Linked DNA regions of Homo sapiens: region 2 is linked to region 1. The links are contacts of gene promoters, found by promoter capture Hi-C in human tissues and cell types (Jung and others, 2019). All regions are on one chromosome and are shown on one strand. The core of a region is centred on a gene start or on the middle of the fragment in contact, and the rest is flanking DNA. Distances in the headings are between cores, read along the strand shown. Region 1 holds the start of WNT3A (Wnt family member 3A). Region 2 overlaps OBSCN (obscurin, cytoskeletal calmodulin and titin-interacting RhoGEF).

Region 1 (5,108 bases), core at 839-3,338:
CGGTCAGTGTCAGGTGGGGTTCTATGCCCCGCTTCCCTGTGTGGCCAAAGGGCTGTCCTGGACTCTTGATAGGAGGGTGCGGAGGGTACAGGGACTTCACTTCTCTGCTCCTCCTGGCTCCCCTGCAGAATGCCTGACTGTCCCCGAGGGTGTCTCAGGGTCCATTCAGGGTAGAACACAGGGGGCCCAGGTGAAAAGGAGGTATACATGCATATGAGGTGGATGGGGACCGAGGCTAGGAACCCTCAGGGCCGACAAGACAAAGATCCTAGGGCGCGGGGTTGCCAGGAGGCTGGCGACATTTATGGGAAGGGCGCGGGGCGAAGGAGCTTCCTTTTGCGCTCAGGAACGCGGCGGCGGGTTCTAATTAGAAGCCTGGTGCGTAAGCCGGCAGCCCTCGGGGCTCTCTCGGACGGACGCGCTGCCCCTGGCTCCCTGCGGCCGTCTGGACGCGCGTCAGTATCCCCGCACCCCAAGGCGAGCCCCGAGCCTGACCCTCAGGTGGGCCACTGGGCGCAGCAGGTGCCGCACGGGAAATGGGGCACGCGGAAATAGGGGCGCGCGGGGGTCCCCGAAGCGCGTCCCCGCGGCCTCGTGGCCTCTTCCAGGCCCTTCAGCTGCCTAGGGCTGCCCCTTCCCCTCCCCGCTGCTCCTGGCCCGGCGCCCCTACCGCGGGAGCCCCCGCTCCTGAACCATCTCGAAGAGAAAAATTATTATCGGATTAGATGTACCTCGGCTCGCTGGGTCTCCCCCCTTCCCCTCGGCGTAATTATTATAATTCCAGGCTGCCGTCGGAGAAGGATGGGGGGGAGTGTGCATGCTTGTGGGGAGGCTTCTCTCCAACTGTGGGTCCTACCAGCGCTGCGCCCGGCCCTGCGCGCCCACATTCCTCCCACTTGTGTTCCTCAATCTTGGGCATCTCAGAGCGCCCTTAATTCGGAACTGGGGTGATCCTTGCTTGGTGAGGGCTCTGAGGGATCACAAGCCCTGGCGAAAGTGTGGCCACCGTTCCCCCTCCCACAGGATATGTGCAGTGGAGGTGGGAGGCCTGAGAGAGACCTTTCGGGACCCTTCCTTTGGTTTATCTGCACTTCCATCGCCAGGCTGGGGAGGGTCTCACGGAACGCGCCTTTTCTGGTGTGGAGGGCGCAGCACAGCGCTTTCTGATTGAGGGTCCTGGAGCCCCTCACACCCCGTGCTTAACTCACCCTTAACTCTCTCTACAGCAGCCCCTCATTGCCAGGTGGACCCATGCGGAGGGCTCGCAGAGAGGGCCCCTGGAAACCCCCGTGCCCGGACTGCGGCGGGGAGGCGCGCGGGGCCCAGGGCCGGCCCCCAGTGCGCCCCGCCGCCGGCTCTGCGCCACTCCCCGCCGGGTCCCAGCTTTCTTTACGTAACCACGCTGCTCCGAGCTGTTCAGTCTTGTCTCATCGACTTTGTTTTAAAACGTGTGTGTGTGTTTGTGTGTAAGATACGGTTTTTGAGGAAAGTCTCCGGCGAATTCTCTCTCGCTGGCCCTCTTCCCTCGCCTGTCCCCTGGCCTCGAGCTGCCTGTCCCCTCGGTGACCGTGCGTGCCGACCTTCTTTCAGCCTCTCCCCAGCCCACTGCTCGCCCTGTCCGACGCCAGGGGCAGCTAGGACCTCCGCAACCTCCCCTACTCCCCCGCTCGGGAATCAATGTCTCCGGAAACTCCGCCACCCACGCGTCCCAGCGGCCTGAACAGGTCCAAAGTGGCCGTCAAGGAAAACCAACCGCCCGCGGCCCGCACGCGGGGCTGGAGCAGAAGGGCGCGGGCTCGGGCCACCGCGGGGTCCCTGCCCGAGGGGACCGTCTGCTGCGGGCGCGGCGCACAGGGGCAGGGGCGAACGCGAGGAGGCTCACTCACCACCAGATCGGGTAGCTGCCCAGAGCCTGCTTCAGGCTGCAGAGGAGTAAGAAGTATCCGAGTGGGGCCATCGCCGCGCGAGAGGGCGCGGAGGGCCGGGAGTCCGCCCCGAGAGCGTGAGCGCCGGGGGGGGCCGGGCCCTGGGAGCTGGCGCGGCGGCGTCGCTGGGCCCTCCTGCGGCCGCGGGTGCGCGGGTGTGCGCGGGCTCCGAGGGCGGCGCTGCGCCAGGTGGGCCGGCGGCCGGGCTGCGGGCCGAGGCCCGGGGCGGCGCGGGGCGGCGGGGGCGGGGCAGCGCCGCGGGGGGCGCCCGCCGGGGCCGGGGCCCGGGCGGGGCAGGCAGGGGCAGGCGGGGCCACGGGAGCCCGAACCGCGGCGGCGGCGTTGGCCCCCGCCTGCTGCCGTGGGTGTCGGTGTGTCTGAGGACGTGCTGGTGTGCGGGCCCCCAGGTGTGCGCGGCGCGCTGGGGTGCGCCAGATGGGCAGGCGGCCGGCCCGGGGCCGCGCGATCCGCAGGCGCCCTCCTGGAGCTCCCGGGCCGCGTCCTGGGTTTCCAGCCCCGCGCGCCCTGCGCTCACGGTGGGACCCGCAGTCCCCCTCTCGCTCCTGGTCTGTGGCGAGCTCCGTCTCTTGCCCCCGAGGTGGCTGGGCTAGGGCTCCCCTTCATCCATCAACCTTCTCGGGGCGGGGGTTTGGGGAGGGAGCGGACGGTTGTCGGGTGCACGTCCTTTGGCCCCGTCTGCCTGCGGCCGGACTCCTTCCGCTGAGACCAGAGCTGCCTGCGCCTTCGGCGGATAGAAAGGGTCCGGGATGGGTGCAGCCTGCAATGGGGACAGCGGCCAGGTGGACCTCCAAGGTGCAGCCACGCGTCTGTGGGTCACAGCTGGGGACGAGTGGGACTCTCTCTGTGGCGCAGGGATTGACCCCTCCATTTTTCTCCCCATCACTCCACCAGGGAAGAGAACAGTGGAAGCCCCTGACGCGATGGGACGGTGGGGAAGCGCAGTGCTGCCCCCAGGTTCTGGGACCACCAACCTCCAGGTCTGCCCAGAGCTATGCAGCCTGTTCCGACAGAGGGATTTCTGACTGTTTAGTTAAGCTTTAGGAGTTTGCTGATGGAGAGGGGAAGACCTGAGAGGGAAAGTGACTTGCCCAAGGTCACCCAGTGACCAGTCAACTCTCCAGCTCCCAGTCATTTGCATATCCATGTGTTGCCCCGGGAGCCGCCTGGGGAGATTGTAATTTGCAGAGGGGAAGTGTCCCCAGCCTCCCCCGGGGGACCTGATAACTGGGATGGTTAAGAGGCACTCTCCCATCGCGGCTGGTCCTCCTGCAGTCACACTGTGACCTAAGCTCAGCAGGAATCTTGGTTACCGCGTTGGAATTGAGGAAGGAGGCTCCGGGAGCTTCTGAGAGCTCCAAGCAACTCCAGACTCATCCGTGGTGTGTTCTCTGGGGATACTGCACTGCCCAGCCTGTGGGCTAGGCCTCCTGTGCGGCTGCAGAGTTGCGGGAGGGAGGTGCATGGAGAGGCAGGGATGGGCATGTGGCCGCTTCTGTGCAGCTTCTCAGGGAGGGGGTGGCTGAGATGTCCCCAGGTGTGTCACTGGCTGGCTGATGGAGGCAGCTGCTTCCCACAGTGTGCCCCACTCACAACTTGGTTCTGCGTTTGCAGAGGGAGCCTGTGGTCCTGTGGACACCGGCCCTAGGGGTCACCTGGTGACTATGTCAGGAGTCCTGAATTCAGAGTGACAGCCTTTCTCTTTGAAAAAAAGTTCCCTTTGCTCCTCACTACCTTGGGAATCCAGTTTCCGCTACGCATGCCCGGCCGCCCACCCGCTTCTCCCAGGCACTGCGGGGCCCCCACCCTCAGAGGGAAAGAGGGAAGAGCTCTGGAATGAAGCGGCGGTGGGGTCAGGGAGGGGGAGGGGAGGAGCGTGTTTGTGCTCCTCTGGACTTGGCCTTGCAGCAAAAATCCCACCCAATTGTGGTACTGGGGAAAACCTGGGCTGCAGGTGGGGTGGGCGCCTGAGCCCAGCCTGAGGCACGCAGACTCTTGTTACCCCCACCTCCCCAGAAATGAGGCTCGGGGATTAGAGCCCCCTAGAGGATGCCAGCTCTGCCCACCGACAGGATGGGCCTCGTGACCTCACTGAAGGGGGCAGGTGAGCGCAGCCTGCTCAGTCCTGCCCTCTTGCCCCTTGGTTTCCCAAGCCCCTCCTCCTGGCTGCTTTCTTCTCCCCCATCAGGCCCCATCCTCTGCCCGTGCCACCTGGGTAGTACACACACTGAGATCCGGCCGCTTCCCAGGCTGCAGAAGATGAAGGGAGGAGCAGACTCCGAGGCCCCAGGCAGGAGCTCAGCCTGCCCAGGCCAGGCTCTCAAGCGAGGGCTCCTGTTTCTGAAGACTCTGGATACCAGGGAGCCAGGGTAGGCTGCATGGAGGAACGAGCGGAGGCTTCTGGAACTAGCTCCTCGGTACCTGCCTGTACCACGTGGGGCTCCTCCTTCCCTCTGTGAGCCTCCGAGAGCCTCGGCTCCTGAGCAGCCAAGTCAGTGGGGCTGGGCTGGGGTGGGGTGGAGAGCAGAGTGGGAGAGCAAGGGTGGGACCCCAGCTGGGTGTCAGGGGCCTGAGGGGCTTCTCCTGAGTGTCTTCCAGGCTCGGGTGATGTTGCCTACAGCACCTCTTGTCCCTTGCTTGGGGTGCAGAGGAAGGTGAGGGGCCTCCCTGGAAGCGCCCTCTGCTGTTGCCTAAAGGGAGCTGTCCCTGACCAGTCTGTCAAGGTCTATGTCCCCACCTGTGCATTGCGCTGGGGACTGGGATGGCGTAGGTTGAGGTCAAGGCATAGGGCAGGCTCCTGGGGGCATGCCGGGTGGCTGCTGAACGGTGACTGAGACCCGGTCCTGTCTCCACAGACCTCCTTGTTGGCCAGGACACAGACCCACATTCCAACACTTGGAACGGGGAGGTGGGTGAGACCTTTGCAAGCCAGCGTCAGGAAAGGGCTAATCGTCCTCAGAGAGGGCACGTGTGAGAAGGCCTGACAACCGGGCAGCTCTGGAGCTAAGCCCTGAGCAGCCAGCCATGTGTTTGATAAAACAAAACTCCCCATGTATGGATGGTGCTGGAGGGAACATCATTTCTGGCCTGCTGGAGGGCCCAGGGAGCGTGCTCCCTCCTTCCAGAATAGGCCCCCAGGCGAGAGGAGGCGCTGCCCACCCCGGA
Region 2 (5,108 bases), core at 1,848-4,347, 350 kb before region 1:
GCAGAATGCAAGGTTGGCTGTACGTGGCTGTGCGTGGGGCACTGGCTGGGAACTTTGCAAGCTCTCTTGTCTGACTCTGCAGTAACCTGGGAGAGGGTCTGATCCCACTTTATAGGGGACAGAGAGGGTCAAAGAGGCTGAAAATCTGCCTGGGGCCAAGAGGGAGAAGCAGAGCAGTCAGCCCAGGTCCTCCTCTGGTGCCCGGTGCCCCTGACCTTGCTGAGCACTGAGAGCAAACTGAGTTAACACGTAGGGAAGCAGAACGTGCTGAGTAACACACAACACATACCAGTTCCCTGCCTGTTACTCATTTTGCCCTCAGCCTTGCACTTCCCTCAGGCTCAAGACAAGGGATGTGGCATGTATGAGGTGACAAAGTCGTCACCAAGTGAGCTACTGCCAGCTGTCTGCTTTGTCCAAAGTACTGTCTCTCTCTCATTTAGTTTTGCTTTCATCTAACTCAGGGCTCCATCTGGAAGCAGTTGCTCCCAGGCATGAGCCCAGAGATGTGTGACCACCCCTTGGGGTGCACAGCAATGACAGGTCCTGCCTCCTCCAGCCCTCAGCTATTAAGGAGGGAGTGATATATTCCACTTAACTGATGGGGAAGCTGAGGCTCAGAGATGTGGCCCACTTGTGCCCACAGGCCTGATTTCCTGCCTCACACCCAGGCTCTAGGGCAGTAGGCTTGTTGCTGACAGCCTGGGCCTAACCCCATCTGCTCACCTCATGTTGCCTGATCTGCTGATGCAGGGTGGTAAGTTGAGTGCAGCCCAACAGGTGGATGGGGACTCCTAAATATCCCCCAAATGCTGGACTCACTGCCACCCCCACAAGGACACATGGGCATCCTGTACTGAGACTGCAAGCACAGCATATGGGGTCTGTCTCCAAGCCCTGTTTCCTTCTCAGGCCTACTGCCTCCCCAGTGCCTCTGCCTGTGTGGTCCACCCTTGGGTTCAGCGCTATGCCTATGCAGTTGGCTCCCTCCAATCCTCAAGCTGAGTGGGTAAATTACGCTTTGCAGAGTGAGGGTTGCCACCTTCCTAAGCCTGGAACAGACTGGACTTGTATGCTTGTAAATCACCTGGTCCTCCTTTCCCTAGGCGTGAGTCGCCTCTGAAGCTTTGCCAGTGGGGCATTCTGGCTCCATCTCTGCTCCTCCATTTTCTTATCCATAAAATGTAGATAATAATAGTGCTCCCAAAGGGACAAAATGTAGACCTACTCTATGTGAGGCTCTGGCACCGTTGCATACCTCCAGGAGTGGGGTGCTCACCAGCATCCAGGCAGCCCCATCTATTGTGGGGTGGCATCATAGGAGCAACTTGTTTTAGGGGAGGAGGGAGAAAGCCAAGGAAGGGTTAACCCAGGATCTCAACAAATGTCTGGCAATGGGATTTTCCCACAATACGGCCAACTGAAGGCCCCTTGAGAACTAAGAGTTTTCCCATCCTGGAGCTTCTCAGCCATCTGGCCTTAGGAAACCACAGTCTTTCCTGCCTCCTGGCTTTTGCAAGCTCTTCCATCACTCCCGCCTGCACACACCTTCTATTGGAAGTCCTCTCAGATTATTCAGGTCAAAACCAACTCTACATTTATGGGTTCACCCAGTTCTGGTCCTCTTGTGTTACCTCAGCAGCAGCAGCATGTGTGATTTTCCTAAATCCTTGAGGCACTGAAGGATGAAGAAAAGGACAGTGGGTGTGGCACTGGGGAAGTGGCTTCCAGTCATTAGCCACCCAGAGCTAACCTCCTCTCTTCCCTGAACTTCAGTTTCCCCATCTTCCAAATGTGAAAATCGGGCTTGGGGACCTCTAAGGGCCCTAAGGCTGTGCTGTCCACTATGAATGCACTATGTAAATTAAATTCAAATGAACAAAAATTAAAATTTAAAATTTGTCCTTCAATCACACTGGACAACATTCCGGATGCTTCAACAGACGCAAGTGGCTAGTGGCTACTGTGGTGGACAGGGGAGATATAGAACATTTCTTTTTGTTTTCTTCGCGACAGAGCTTGCTCTATTACCCAGGCTGGAGTGCAGTGGCACGATCTTGGCTCACTGCAACCTCTGCCTCCCGGGTTCAAGCAATTCTCCTGCCTCAGCCTCCTGAGTGGCTGGGATTACAGGGGCCCGCCACCACACCCGGCTGATTTTTGTGTTTTTAGTAGAGATGGGGTTTCACCATGTTGGCCAGGCTGGTCTCAAACTCCTGACCTCAGGGGATCTACCTGCCTTGGCCTCCCAAAGTGCTGGTATTACAGGCCTGCGCCACTGCGCCTGGCAGATATAGAACATTTCTGTTACCACAGAAAGTTCTGTTGGACAACACTGTCGTAAATCCCAGGGTGCTGAGGATTAGAATTCTGTCTCTGGCCCACTGAGGAAAGCAGGTCTCAGGCCTAGCTCCTGATGAACCCCTGGATGAACCACTGTGAAGTGTGTGGAATAAGTCTACTCTGCTGAAACAGTGGGACCACGGAGTGTACTGAGGCCCTGGAAGAGAGCGCTGTGAAGTGTGGAAGTAATCGAGGCCCCAGGGGAAGGTGCCTATGCAAGGTAACTGCAAGTACCTGTAAGGTGCTGGCAGTCAGAGGGTGCATGTTATGTGAGCAGACAGGCAGCAAGCAGGTGGCTGGGCCACACAGGCATGATCCAGGCAGGTCAGTGGCATGCAGGAGGCACTGCAGTCAGAAGGAAGGTTAGGAACACGCCTGCACTTACATGATGACGGTTTTCTTGGGGACTTTAGTCTCTTGCTCAGTGACTACAAAGAAAACAGTCGGAATAGCGAGGGTTACAGACCAGCCAGTGCTAGGGGCTGAGCTATCGGAGTGGCACAGCGTTGTAGTCACCTGCTAAGCTGCCCCTGGGCAGCCTGTCTACTCAGAGCCCCAGTTCCTGGGCCTCTGACATGGAGGTGACGATGCCTGTCCTGAGTGGCTGCGGAATGAGGGCTGAGGACAATGCTTCCCCTCGTGAAGGCAGGACCCACTGTCCCTCTCGAGGGTCTTGCAGGGACTGGGGGGAGAATGAGGACCCTACCTACGCTCCCTGCACAGAAATTCCAGCTTCTCCTTCAACCCATGTGCCAAGGGAGCCCCGTGAATTTGTCAGACCTACAATCCCACTTCTCAGACATAGAAACCGAGTCCTAGAAGGGAATAAATGGCCTGTGGCTGCACAGGGAGCCAGCGGCCACACTGAGGCTGAGGCAGCTGGGGACTCTGTTACAAAAAATCCTCAGGAGAGAGGGACTCTGGAGTCCTGAAAGTGGCACAACTGAGCTTTGTGGCGCAAAGCCACAGAAGTCCTACCAAGAACAGCCCCAGGGGATGCCTGGGCAGGGTGCTGAGCTCTGAGTGAGCGTCAGCCCAAATCTCCCTATAGGAGCATCCTCAGTCCACACACTCCATGGTCTCTCCAGGTTTTCCTAGCTGCCTCCCTCCCCAGAGCCAGCAGGATGGGGCCTGTGGTTCCAGTGATCGGATGGGACGCATCTGGGATCAGGCAGCTCCTCCTCCCAGTCACCTCAAGGACTCTCCCCTGCAGCTCCCGGGCAGAATCATCAGGGCACAAAGATGGCCCCCTCCCAGCCCAAGCCAGCTGGCCAGCGGGCAGTCCACGGGCCACCAGCACCTTCACATCTCAGTGACCCTCCCCAGCACCCTGAGGGAAAAAAACGAGCAGGAGGCCCAGAAGTCAAGTGACGTGGCCTGGGGCACATGGCCTCACAGCTCCGGGTCAGGGGGTGGGACACCATCTGCTTTGCTAGACTGCCATGTGGAGAAAGGCTTTACACCTGTCTCAGGTGAGGAGCACGTGAATTTCAGGGACTGCCTGCGTCTATATGTGCACTTGGGAGCCACAGTACTGTGCATTTCTGTGCACACACATGTGCAAGTGTGTGTATGTGCACAGATGTATGTGCATGCATACGTGTGTGCATGCACGTGTATACATATGTGTAGGTGTGTATTTCACAGGCTCCCCCTGGAGAGAGGAGAGCCCATGTGAGGAGAGAATGAGATCCAACCAAAAGGCTCTGTGTGTTTAGACTAAGCTGACCCCAGAGAAAGCCAATGTGTCCACTACCTGCAGGCCAGTGATGGGAACTGCACAGAGTGATGGGAAAACCCGGGGCCTCCCCACTCATCCTCCCTGCACTTGGGGCTGACAGCCAGGCACCTCTGGGCCCATACACTCTCTGGCACCTTCATTCATGGACCTAAACTGTCACCTGATCGGCTGTGGGCCAGAGTGAGTATTTGCGACTACAGGAGGGATGCAGCCGTGCGCAGCATGATTCACAAGTGAGGGGGCAGCGCCCACCCCGCAGAGGCCTGCCAGGGCCTGTTTGGGCTGCAGAGCTGCTGGGTTAAAGATGAAGCAGCAGGATAGGAGTTAGAAGCGGGGAGGCGTTGGCTCCAGCTCCAGGCTCTTCAAGGACCTGCATTCTCACCTTGCTGAGGCGCTGACACTCTGTCCAGCACTGGTGGCCTCTCTCCCCTGCCACCCCCTCCTCCAGACCCAGAGAAAGACTTGTTGTGACAGCCAAGTGAACGACTGTGGAGGACGCTCCTGTCACCAGCAAGAGGCAGCCCTGGGTGTCCCAGCTGGCCATGAGACACAAGACTCATGGGAGGCTGAGGTGCTGGCGGCTCCAGAAGCAGTTCTGTGTGGTGCTATGGCCACCAGTTGTGGGGCTGACGGAGGTCTCAGGGCCCCCAGAGACACGTCAGACATGGGGCACTCACAGTCGGAGGTTGGCCAGTGCCAGTGGCACCGTGTGGGCTGAGGAACAAGGACCTCTGCCCAGCAGGGGAGGGGTCTCCCTGAGGGTCATGGAGGGCATCAAAGATGGCCCAGCTCTGTGGGGTCCAGATGGGCAACTGGCTTTCAGACACTGGGCACTGGGAGAGACAGTTGAGGTGGGGTTGCAGGAGCCAATGTTTAAGACTTGGAGGACATGTATTCCAACCACTCCCACAGTGGCAGCTGCAGCTCTGCCAGGTGTTGGGCCAGCCTCCACTTGCATGTCCCCAGGGATGGAAGGCTCAAAACCTGTCCAGACGGGCAGCTCCAACTGGGAGCCCAAGACGGA

What was found. The method cuts DNA at HindIII sites, captures the fragments that hold promoters and counts their contacts. A contact is called where the count stands out against the background at its distance.
Region 2: a fragment that was not itself captured here is called in contact with the fragment with the promoter of WNT3A in region 1 in 1 of the 25 tissues and cell types used here (spleen).

What each region holds. Positions count from the first base shown.
Region 1 is chr1:228,003,978-228,009,085 of GRCh38, reverse strand. WNT3A (Wnt family member 3A) reads right to left here and starts at 2,088. Exons shown (of 4, transcript NM_033131.4): 1 at 1,887-2,088. The coding sequence starts at 1,957. RefSeq lists an enhancer at 4,525-4,574. The HindIII fragment of the contact is 17,022 bases long and covers 1-4,227 here.
Region 2 is chr1:228,353,814-228,358,921 of GRCh38, reverse strand. All of the region lies in intron 90 of OBSCN (obscurin, cytoskeletal calmodulin and titin-interacting RhoGEF), which reads right to left. LOC101927401 (a long non-coding RNA gene) reads left to right here. Exons shown (of 9, transcript XR_007066915.1): 9 at 1-1,885. Among named protein-coding and RNA genes, the nearest start is that of TRIM11-AS1, 38 kb to the left of the region's middle. The HindIII fragment of the contact is 8,299 bases long and covers 1-5,108 here.